Linked DNA regions of Homo sapiens: all the other regions are linked to region 3. The links are contacts of gene promoters, found by promoter capture Hi-C in human tissues and cell types (Jung and others, 2019). All regions are on one chromosome and are shown on one strand. Each heading gives the region's core, a stretch centred on a gene start or on the middle of the fragment in contact. The rest is flanking DNA. Distances are from core to core; before and after follow the strand shown.

Region 1 (2,700 bases), core at 184-2,683, 500 kb before region 3:
GGGGCCATTTTGGAGCCTAGCTGACACAATGAGTAAACTTTCACTACATATAAATAAGAAAGTGACAGAAAAATAATTTTGCTCCTGAGAAAAATTTTCTAATGAATACACATATATTTGTTCAAATTCTCAAGTTATTTGACTCTGCCAAATTTTCCTCTTTCTTTATAGGTCACGTTATCATACTCCAGAGATTGGAAAGGGGAGATATTTATTTAGTAAGTTGGAGACTATAGATTAATTTCTTACCGACCACCATCAGTGTGAACTCAAAACCTTTTTTCACTGATTTTCGGTGAACTTGATTGGGGAGGTTTGCAAATCCAACATAGCCAGGTGTTTCTGGATTTATAAACTGAGTTGGCTGTTGCTAAATAAGATTAAAAAACAAACAAACTAATAAACACCTTAGTAGTTGCTTTTAAGATATAATCAGTTAGACATGAAACAAACATAGGTTATCAGTTTTCACAAATTTTTTAAAAAGTATAAACACTTCCAGAAGGTCATACTTCTATCAGAAAACCAGTAGTATTCAACTAGGAGCATTAAAAAAAGAAAAACTTATCTAGTATAACTCCTTAGTTGTATGCGACTGAAAATTAACATTTTGTTAATCAGTATTCTGTTTAGGAATTTAACAATACATAGAAGATACATGCTTAATACATCTTAATGCAATTTCAAATTTCGACTTGAGAGACTATGGAGTTCCAGGAAAATCAGTCAAGCTTACAAAGTACTGCTACAGCTGACAGTACTTTGAATGAATGGTTTCATTCAACAAACTTGGCTAAAGAATAGCTTCTCCCAGGTATTAGGTGCAATGCATTTCTGAAAAGTATCGAGGAAAAAAGCATCTCTCTTGCTGTGCTTCTAGCTCTATAGAACAGAGTTTCATCAAGGGTGAGGCAGGCAAATTAGGGGTGGGATGTTGAGTATCTAGTGTCAAAGACCAAGAAAGAAAAGACAGAATGAGAAGATCATAGATGACTACACTGAAGCATCAATATTCCTTGACAGAAGGGTATCTGATGAGAGAGAGGACAGAGATATGAGAAGGCAAGAATAGCAGAAGTAACCAGAATCTAGACAGTGGCATACTGAAAATGAGAAGAAATTTTAAAAATCAATTTATTAATTGAAAAAGGCAAGATACAAAATAGTATTTCCTTTAGGATTACATTTTGTAAATGTATAGTCAAATGCACACACAGGTGAAAAAGAATATATGTAACATATTAACAGTGGTTATTCCTGAGTGGTGAAATAATGACTTTTTTTTTTGCTTATCTGTGTTCCATGCTAACACTGGTATAAAATGCAAAAACTGGTATGATGATTTTGCATTGGACAGTAATGAACACCCACAGGATTCAAAGATAAAAAAAAAACAGAAATAATAATCTTGCAATGTTAACCACAAGTTCTGCTTTTCTCAGAATATGTTCTTTAGCACTAATTTATCTCTGAACTAACTTGCAAAGGCTGATTTAAACCAATTTATCAAGTCTAAGAGCCCCATCAATTTCATCATAATAAATTATCAGAATTCTAAATTATCTGGTCTGCTGGGAATGAACTAAGGGGGCCAAAAGGACTGTTACTGATGTGTGTAGAGAAAAGAAAGTAGAAGCCTGAAAAAAGAGAAAGCTCCAAGCTTTTAAGATGACAATTAGGCCAGGCACGGTGGCTCACACCTGTAATCCCAACACTTCGGGGGGCCAAAGCGGGTGGATCACGAGGTCAACAGATCAAGGCCATCCTGGCCAACACGGTGAAACCCCGAATTTACTAAAATCCAAAAAATTAGCCAGCGTGGTGGCACGTGTCTGCAGTCCCAGCTACTCCGGAGGCTGAGCCAGGGGAATCGCTTGAACGTGGGAGGCAGAAGTTGCAGTGAGCTGAGATCATGCCACTGCACTCCAGCCTGGTGACAGAACAAGACTCCCGTCTCAAAAAAAAAAAAAAAAAGACAACTAAATTAGAACTCTTTGTGTTAATGAATCAAATGTATCAGTTGTATTAAAAATAATGAATCATATAAGTCCCGACTGTCAACAGTCTGAAAACATAAAGCAATTTCTCCTTATGCTGTAGATACATGAAGTATGATCTTACCTTAGACATCTTTTGTGAAGCTTCGTCTGTTAAAAAAAAAACACACAGACACACATAAACGCACATACATAGTATGTATGTATACGCACGTATATTTAACAGCGTGAACTGACCTGAAGAAGACTTACACATACATAGGCAATGTAAAAAGAAAATACAATTTCAGGACCTTCCAAATGCATTAGGCCAAAGGGAAAAGTTAAGCACTGACAGCTGGCTCGTGTAACATCACTACTTTTATTCTTTCTGACTTTTGTGTTTAGATGTATATATTAACCAGACCCCCTATTCTTTATTCAAAACTAGACTAAATGACTGGGAGATGAGAGATCCTTATGACTGTTACTTCTTTACAAAAGGAAGTTAAACAAATCCCTTCAAGTGTAATCAATAGTAGCCAATCAAATTTGTATCTTTAAATGAGCCTTAGTTCCGAAAATGTTATAATTCTGTTTGGCACCTCCATTTTGCCTATATAAACAATCCTCATTTTTCCCCACCCTGGGAGCGCTAATCACCATTCTTTGGTGTAGCTCGCTTACACTCTGTACTTAAATGAATTCTTTTAACTGAATCAGG
Region 2 (2,700 bases), core at 89-2,588, 330 kb before region 3:
CAGCCCCACCCCCGGCCTGGCCTCGCGCCGCCGCTCTCCCCCTAGCTCTGGGTCCTTCCCGGCCGCTGCCGCCCCCGGGCCGGGGCTCCCCCGAGGTCCAGCGCCTCCCCCGCTCCCCCGGGTCCGGCTGTCAGCTGTCAGGGGGCCGCGCGGCGGCGGCCAGAGGCAGGACGTGGAGTTTCTCTCAGGCACGGAGCAGTTCCAGCCCGCAGCTCCCCCCGCCCGCTGGGCCCTTGGGCCGCCGCCCGCAGGGGCCGCTCACCCTCCATCATCTCCTGCGACTGTTGCTGCCCCGCGCCGCGTTCCGCCGCCATGTTGGCTGCTCTTCCCCTTTCCGGAATCTGTCGCCTCAGACCCCTCAGCCAATCAGGGCTCCCGCCTCAGAGCCGGCCCTGCCAATGGGATTCCGGCGCGGCGACTTCAGCCGCGCCGCGCCTGCGTGGGCCCAGCGCCTCATGGGAGTTGTAGTTCCGTCATGAGGCCGCGCGCCGCGCCTCCCCCAGAGCAGGTAATTTCAGGCGGCGGAGCCGGAACAGTCTGGAGGCGAGAAGCTGGGAAGGAAAGCAGAGGGAGTCGAAGCGGGACGCACAGAGCCGTAGCTGCAGGCAGACGGAGTGGACGTCTAGGCAGAGTGGAGAGACGCCCTGGGCTTGAGAGTTGACTTATGTCACTGTCTCGACCTCGGAGGCGTGGAGGGGCCGCGGGCCAGGCGGATCTTTCCGTGGCTGCAAGGTGCGGGCCAGTCCTACGTGCATCCCTGACCTCTGCGAGCCTCGCTGGCTGCGTCTGTACAATGGGCCGAACGGCAAGAGCAACAACATTCTCCCGGCGTCCCCGCGCGGATTTTACCCATGCGAAATGCCGCCTTCTCTTGACGCTCGGAGCAGGCGGGCAGGTGCGGGGCACTTGCGCTGGTGGGGCCGCTAGCCAGCTGGCTGGCTCCGGGGCGCCAGCTGGGCTCCCCTTGCAAGTCGTTCCCAGCCCAGTGCGGACGCTGCAGCCTTCGTCTACCCTGCGGAGCCACCCGGCCCATGAACGAGCCGCCCCGCGTCCTCCGCCTTCAGAAAGAGGCCTCCAAGAGGCGAGCTCTGCGCTACTCACCCATTTTGATCGCGAGTCGGGAGGAAACCGCATCTGCCCGGCCCGGGGGCGGAGGCGCCCATTATTCCTTTGGCTCCTCCGAAGCGCCGTAGGGGTGTTTGGTGCGTCCCTAGCAACCCTTAGCGCGGGCTTCTAGACTCTGGCTAGCTTAGTCCCGCCCATACGCGCAAGTGGCTGGTCCGTGGAGCTTGTCAATCGGTGCTAGTCGCTGTGCGATTGGTCGGTGGGATAAAAGCGCGGAAGGGCTCCTTTCCGTGGTGTGTAGCCGGCTTGGCGTGACCCTCGCCTGATCCAGGTGAGATACCTGCGCTCGGGAGAGCGGGCCGGGCTCCGCCATCTCCCCAGGGCGGCTGTGGGGCCTGCGCGGCTCCGCGCCCCTGGCCCAGGAGGATCCGCCGCCCGACTCTTAGACCAGCCCGACCCCGGGTCTCCCGCCCCTGCGCCCGTCGCCCTTCGCGCACCGCCGAGCCCGCGTCCTCTCCGTGCCCAAATCGCGGCGGGGTTGCGGCCGTTGGCCCTGGGCCCCGCGCCCCCAGCGTCTTCGGGGTGCCCTTCAGTGTAGCCTGCCCGGTGGGCGCCGAGGCCCCGCGCCTCGGGTCGCCTCGGGACCCTGCGCTCTCTTCACCGCAGCCGGCCCTGCGGGGCGAGCTCCAGGAGAACCAGCCCGGATCCCGCCAGCCTCCTGCACTGGGCGTGTGGGTCCCTGCGGGCTCAGCCGGCGCCGCGGGGTCGGGGGCGCGCGCCGCCGGCGCTCGTGGTTACAGCAAAGACCTGGACTTGAGCCTTAATTTTTTCACTAATTTTTCTTTCCCAGAGTACGGCAGGGGCCTGCGCTGCCGTCTTGAGGCCTTTCTCGTCCTTACCTTCCGCATCTCAGTACCATTCGATGTCCATTTTTCTCTTAGGGGTTCCCTCTCTTCATCTTTCTGCTGCTACCTTAATTTAAGACTTTATAATTTCTTGCCTGGATTACTGTAGCCTTTCTCCTGCTTTCCAGCCTTGCACCGACATGGTCCCTGGAGTAATCTTTGTAAAATGCATATCTGGCCATGTTACTCCTAAGCATTGAATCCTTAAAAGTTCATTTTGGGGATAAAATTAAGACTTTGGGCAGGCATAGGAGGCTCTGGGCTCATGCTTGGCCCTTCCAGGCCCACGTCCACCTACTCTTCTGGGTACTGAACTCCTCTCTGGGAGGCTTTGCCTCTGAAAGACTTCTTCACTCTGCTTGGTAGGGCCCGGCTCTGCAGGTGCCTCCTCCAGGACTGACATCCTTGCTGTGTTCTACTGCACTGTTCACCTTGTTGGCCTCATCCTGAAACTGGTTCTCCTTTTTGTTGTACAGCTGTGCTGACAGCAATGGGAGCTGTTTGCTTCTTAGCTTATGTTCTGGTGGGAGGGGGACAGTTGCTTCTAGAAGTTCGCCGAGATGCTCCCTGCAAAGTTGTCCTTGCTTCTGTTTGGTCTGAGGTGGGGTCACTTGTGTCTTCTGGAATCAAAACTAGCAATGGGAATATGGTTACTCGGTGGCACCATTAGGTGCTGTCTGCTGGGTTTGGGTTCCCGTGTCTGCAGCTCACAGTGGATACAAAGGACAAT
Region 3 (2,700 bases), core at 193-2,692:
TGAAATAGATTAATTCCTAGAAAAATGTCTATTGCCTCGAGAAATAGAGAACTTGCCAGATTAAAAAGCATGAGGAAAACGGAGGTGATAAAGACCCCAGCCCCAGAAGCCCAGATGGTTTTATTGTTTCTGCCAGGGTTAGGAAGAACAATTGATTTCTCTTTCATGCCGGCGGTTCCAGGAAATAGTGAAGGAGGAGGAGCTGTCTAGCTGGTTTCGGCGGGGCTGGGGCTGGGAGTGGGGGGCCCGTGTCTTGCAGAAGTGGATGTGAATCTCCCCCAGCCACCTGCAAGGCGCTCGCACGCAGCTGTCGGGACTGAGGTGAAGCCGGCTCTCCCAGGAGTGTGGATGAAATGGTTAACGGCGAGGCCGCTAGGGCAGCGCAGGCCCCTGCTGGGCGCCAGGGAGGCTTAGCCAGGCGACGCCAGGATGCCCATGGCAGGGGCTCGATGGCAGGGGCTGGGCTGGAGGGGACCCAGCCCCGGGGTTCAGGGTGGCCCGAAATCCGTGCACCCCCGCACCGCAGTGCGGGGAGGTTCCCATGGGCGAGCTGCCCAGAGGCTTTGTCGAAGTTGCCCAGCCCTGGGACGGTGGAGGGAGGACGGTGGCGCGCACAGAGATACCAGTCAGCCCCTGGAACTAGGAAGGCGGCTGGGGGCGGGTGACGCAGGCTGGGGTTTGCCGGGGTGGCCCCCGAGCGGCGTGTGACTTGGGGGTCCAAGGAAGTTAAACTGGACAGGCTGGGGTGAGGACAATGGGGGCCTGGAGAGGTGGGGCGAGAGGAGGGCGGGGGGTCCCCACGAGCCGCGGTAGAGGCGAGGCGGCGGGTCCGCGGGCGGGTTGCATCATCCGGCGGGGAGGGCCTGGGTCACTGCTGCTCTTCCCCCGGCGCCCCGGCCCCGACACAAGATGCGATTTCACCGCGCACCTGTTACACCCGGAGCCAGCATCCCTGGCGCAAGGAGCCCTCCCTCCCCAGCCCCGCCCGCCCCCCACGATGCGTCTGTCGCTGGCTCAGAGCGGGGGCAGGTGGACGTTTTACGATTTCACTCGAAAGGGGCCAGGGTGGGGGACGGCCCGGCGAGGGGTCCGCGGGCAAGTTCAGGTGCACGCGGGGCTTCGGGACGGGGCGCCGCCGGGTCCCTCCCCCGCGAGGTCTCAGGGGCACGCCGGGGGAGGGGACGCTGCGTCCGAGCCGGGTGTCGGTCCCCCACCCTCCGCGGGGCCCGCCGCGGTGTCAGCGGTGACGTCACAGCCCGGCCCCGGCCCCCTCCGTCCCCAGCCCCATCCCCGCGGCGGCCGCGTCGCCCGTCCCTCTCCCCGCGCGACAAACCAGCTGGCGACTGGAGCTCGGACGCCGCGCGCAGCCAACCAGCGCCTCGGGAGGGGCGCGGGGCGGTCCGGGCCGGGGGCGCGCAGCCCGTCACGCGGCGGCGCCGTCACAGCGCAGAGCAGCCGGCGAGCGGCAGCAGCTCCGGGCTCGAGAGCCCGCGCCCATGCCAGTGCCCATGCGGGGCCGCCGCCAGTGACGCCGGAGAGGTAAGGCCGCCGCCCGCCCGGCCTCCCGCGCCCGCGCCCCTCGCCCCGCACCTGCGCCCGGCAGCCCGCGCCCGCAGCCCGCACCTGCACCCACTGCGCCCAGGGCGGGGAGCTCCGGCCCGGCGCCCTTGTTGCCGCCCAAAGCGCAGGCACTGCGAGGCCCCTTCACTTCCAGACCTTCCTCCATCTCCGCAGAGAACAATGGGGGAAATTCAGGGGTGTCCGCCCTTCAGGTGCCGCTGGAAAAGGTCCCTTTGCCGCGATCTCGGCTGCAGCGGGACCCTCGGCTTAGGCGGGCGGGGGTCGCCCTCGGGAGGGCTCGCCCGGCCGGCGGGATCGGGATACCCCCGCCCTTCCCCGGCTATTCCGCTTCCCTGGAGAGGAGCCACCGGCGGGGCTGCGGGAGGGGCTGCGCCCAGACGGCGGGGGAGGGGAGGGATGGTGAGCGGGGCTGAGGACGCTGACGCCGCACCTGGGAGGGTGCGCGGCTGCAGCGCCTCGGCCCGAGGGGAGAGCGCGCAGGGCGGCCGGGCGCGGGCAGCTGCTCCGGTTCCCGGGGTGGGGGAGGGCGGATGCTGGAGCCGGGAGCAAAACAGGCGGGCGGGGCGGGGGCTGCGGCGTTGGGGCCTGGCCACCCGCTTCGTTGCACGGCCGGCCTGCCCATCACCCCCTCCCACGCCAGAGACCCCAGCTCCCTTCCAGAAAGACCCAGCACCTGGGAGGGGCCGCCGGCGAGCACTGCCTGCGTCTCAGCAGCCAGCGCCCCTGTAACAGGTGTGGCCCGGCGGCGAGGGAGGGGCTGCGGGGCCGCAGGGTCTAGGCTGGCGGCGCGCCCCCGGCGCCCGGGCTCGGATGACACGAAGGAACAGTGGCCGCGAAGACCTTCGCACTCCCGCTTTAAGCCGCTCCTCACGCTGACTTCCCCCAAACCAGCCGCGCTGCCCTCTCGCTGGGAAGGGCCGGGGCAGCATCCCCGCCGGGAGGGAGGGTCCGCAGGAGCGGGGCGCTGGGCGCCGGTAGGTGGGGTTGGGGGGGCCCTGCCGGCCGCAGGGGCGGGAGGGGGAGGGGAAGGAGGGAATGCCAAGTCATGGGGCCTGCTGGGCGCGAGCGCGACGTCGCCCGGCGCGGACCCGATGCGCGCCCACGTCCCCGGGAATAGGG
Region 4 (2,700 bases), core at 63-2,562, 380 kb before region 3:
TGTCCACCTGTCAGCCTTGGAGCACTCCTGTCCACCTGTGTCAGGCTGGGAGCACTCCTGCCCACCTGTGTCAGGCTGGGAGCACTCCTGTCCACCTGTGTCAGCCTGGGAGCACTCCTGTCCACCTGTCAGGCTGGGAGCACTCCTGTCCACCTATGTCAGCCTGGGAGCACTCCTGTCCACCTGTGTCAGCCTGGTAGCACTCCTGCCCACCTGTGTCAGGCTGGGAGCACTCCTGCCCACCTGTCAGCCTGGGAGCACTCCTGTCCACCTGTCAGACTGGGAGCACTCCTGTCCACCTGTCAGACTGGGAGCACTCCTGTCCACCTGTCAGCCTGGGAGCACTCCTGTCCACTTGTCAGACTGGGAACACTCCTGTCCACCTGTGTCAGCCTTGGAGCACTCCTGTCCACCTGTGTCAGGCTGGGAGCACTCCTGCCCACCTGTGTCAGGCTGGGAGCACTCCTGTCCACCTGTGTCAGCCTGGGAGCACTCCTGTCCACCTGTCAGACTGGGAGCACTCCTGTCCACCTGTGTCAGCCTTGGAGCACTCCTGTCCACCTGTCAGACTGGGAGCACTCCTGTCCACCTGTGTCAGCCTTGGAGCACTCTTATCCACCTGTGTCAGCCTGAGAGCACACCTGTCTACCTGTTTCAGCCTGAGAGCAGTCCTAGCTACCTGTCAGCCTGGGAGCACTCCTGTCCACCTATCAGCCTGGGAGCACTCCTGACCACCTGTCAGCCTGGGAGCACTCCTATCCACCGGTGCCAGCCTGGGAGCACTCCTGACTACCTGTCAGCCTGGGAGCGCCCCGTCTGCCTGTCAGTCTGGGAGTGCTCCTGACCACCTGTCAGTTTGGGAGCACTCCTGTCCACCTGTCAGCCTGGGAGCACTCCTGTCCACCTGTCAGCCTGGGAGCACTCCTGTCCACCTGCCAGCCTTTCAGCCATGTCCACAAGGCCCTCTGTGACACTCCTGAAGACAGGCATGTGCTCACCTCACACCTCAATCACCTCAAGCACCAGCTGTCTGCACAGGACCTAGCACCTAGGGGTCCCCCCGCCCCACACCCATCTGGAGGCCCAGCACCAGGCCCCAGAGCTGCGGAGAGGGAACACTCACGTGGGTATGTCTGAGAACACCAGGAAGCAGCCCACCAGGAACACCAGTGTGCCCACCACTGCCGCTGGCAGGAGCCAGCCTGTGTAAAACCCTGTAGAGAGGATGGCAGGGGTCCACCATCAGGAACCCAGGCTTGGGGGCCCCAGGTAGGGGTCTGCACAGCCATGCTTGTCCCCTAGGGACCACCCTCAGCCCAGCTTGGGGGCTGGGGCCCTATGTGAGGAGGCCAAGAGGTACACAGCTCTCCCTGGCAGCTCTGGCACGGCCCACCCTCCTGGGCCTCTGCCCTAGACTCTGGACACCCCTACCACATTGACCCCAACACCAGTGCTGCTGGGGCTCCAGCCCACCAGGCTCTCCACCTCTGGATGCCTTCTCCTCAGCCAGCTCACTCCAACCAACCTGCCCGGGACGGACAGAGAAGTCCCTCTACATCCTGCCCACCACAGAGCTGTGGGCCCACCCGTGTTCCAGCCCCAGGGAAACCACGAGTCATTCCGGGTACCTCCCTCCCCACCACCCAACCCCCACCCTGGCCCCTGCCTCATCTGACCACAGCCGCAATCCCTCAGTTACCCCAGGCCCTCAGCATGTACCCCCACTGCCTCCCATAGGGCTAGTCCAGTCCCAGGCCTGGTGTCCTGTCTCCTGCCTGACTCTCTGCTGGCCAAAGTGACTGCTGTGAAACGCAAGTCTGCCTGGAGCCCAGATCCAGCCCTGGCCCTGCTTGCCCCCAGAAGCCCCCAGCCTGGCCGTGCTGTCCCAGGGTTGCTGCTCCAGGTCCTGAGATGGCCGGGTGAGTCCTGGCACACAGGAGCTGTCCCTCTGCCCCGATGCTGTGCCCCGGCTGCCCTTCCATGCCTGCCGGCCCCGCCCGCTGCCCTGGCTGGCTCTATTGTCTGGGTCCACGGTGGGGCTGTGTGTGCGGATGAGAAAGGGCTTTGGAAGTTCTGGGGCACAGAATGAAGGGGTTGGGTCTGACCCAGGATGGGGAAGGGAGGGTGCCAAGAGCTGAGTGGGGTGAGGGCAGCCAGGACCCAGGAGGAACAGCTCTGGGGTTGCCTGGGGCAGATGGCCTGCTTGGAGGAGATGAGAGGCTTGGCCTGGACCCAGGCAGGGGCGACCTCCCTAGGATGGAAGTTCCTGGGGTTGCCCCAGGGCCTCATGGGCCAGTGACATTCGGGGAGGGAGTCAGGAGAGACCCCCACCAGCAGAAGCGGCTCTCAGCACTGTTACTGGAGCATTAGGAGGCCAGGGCCCGGCATCGTCATGGCGCCCAGTTAGAGTGAGTGGGCTTGAGGGGAGCCAGGAGGGCAGCCCGGTCGAGCCAAGAGCTGCGCCCACCGTCCAGGCCCCCACGCACGCTGCCCTCCAGGGGTACGGACTGGCAAATTGTTACAACCTGACACCAAGCTGGGGGGGCCCAGGTGGTCTGGGGGGCAGCGGGGGGGACTCACCGAGCCAGGCGAAGTAGAGGGCCACCTTCTCCCCGAAGTACCTGCGCACGTGGTCCAGGGGCTGGTACTTGTTCCACTTGCCCCAGCGCGCCCAGTGCTGGAAAAGGACTTGGCGCTGGT

The links. Contacts are between HindIII fragments. The study calls those that stand out against the background at their distance.
Region 1: a contact is called between a fragment that was not itself captured here and the fragment with the promoter of KIF1A in region 3, in 1 of the 25 tissues and cell types used here (hippocampus).
Region 2: the fragment with the promoter of PASK here is called in contact with the fragment with the promoter of KIF1A in region 3 in 1 of the 25 tissues and cell types used here (dorsolateral prefrontal cortex).
Region 4: a contact is called between a fragment that was not itself captured here and the fragment with the promoter of KIF1A in region 3, in 1 of the 25 tissues and cell types used here (aorta).

What each region holds. Positions count from the first base shown.
Region 1 is chr2:241,323,663-241,326,362 of GRCh38, reverse strand. SEPTIN2 (septin 2) reads right to left here. Exons shown (of 13, transcript NM_004404.5): 2 at 2,122-2,147; 3 at 250-370. The coding sequence starts at 2,130. Among named protein-coding and RNA genes, the nearest start is that of SEPTIN2, 9.1 kb to the right of the region's middle. The HindIII fragment of the contact is 3,359 bases long and covers 1-2,700 here.
Region 2 is chr2:241,148,110-241,150,809 of GRCh38, reverse strand. It overlaps PASK (PAS domain containing serine/threonine kinase), which reads left to right and starts at 1,338. Exons shown (of 18, transcript NM_015148.4): 1 at 1,338-1,396. It overlaps PPP1R7 (protein phosphatase 1 regulatory subunit 7), which reads right to left and starts at 343. Exons shown (of 10, transcript NM_002712.3): 1 at 263-343. The coding sequence starts at 314. RefSeq lists silencers at 1-261, 1,392-1,751, 1,812-1,871, 1,922-1,971 and enhancers at 552-711, 2,225-2,384. The HindIII fragment of the contact is 22,172 bases long and covers 1-2,700 here.
Region 3 is chr2:240,818,961-240,821,660 of GRCh38, reverse strand. It overlaps KIF1A (kinesin family member 1A), which reads left to right and starts at 1,442. Exons shown (of 49, transcript NM_001244008.2): 1 at 1,442-1,539. RefSeq lists an enhancer at 456-1,030. The HindIII fragment of the contact is 12,815 bases long and covers 1-2,700 here.
Region 4 is chr2:241,203,379-241,206,078 of GRCh38, reverse strand. ANO7 (anoctamin 7) reads right to left here. Exons shown (of 25, transcript NM_001370694.2): 9 at 2,581-2,700; 10 at 1,124-1,214. Among named protein-coding and RNA genes, the nearest start is that of ANO7, 16 kb to the right of the region's middle. The HindIII fragment of the contact is 6,060 bases long and covers 1-2,700 here.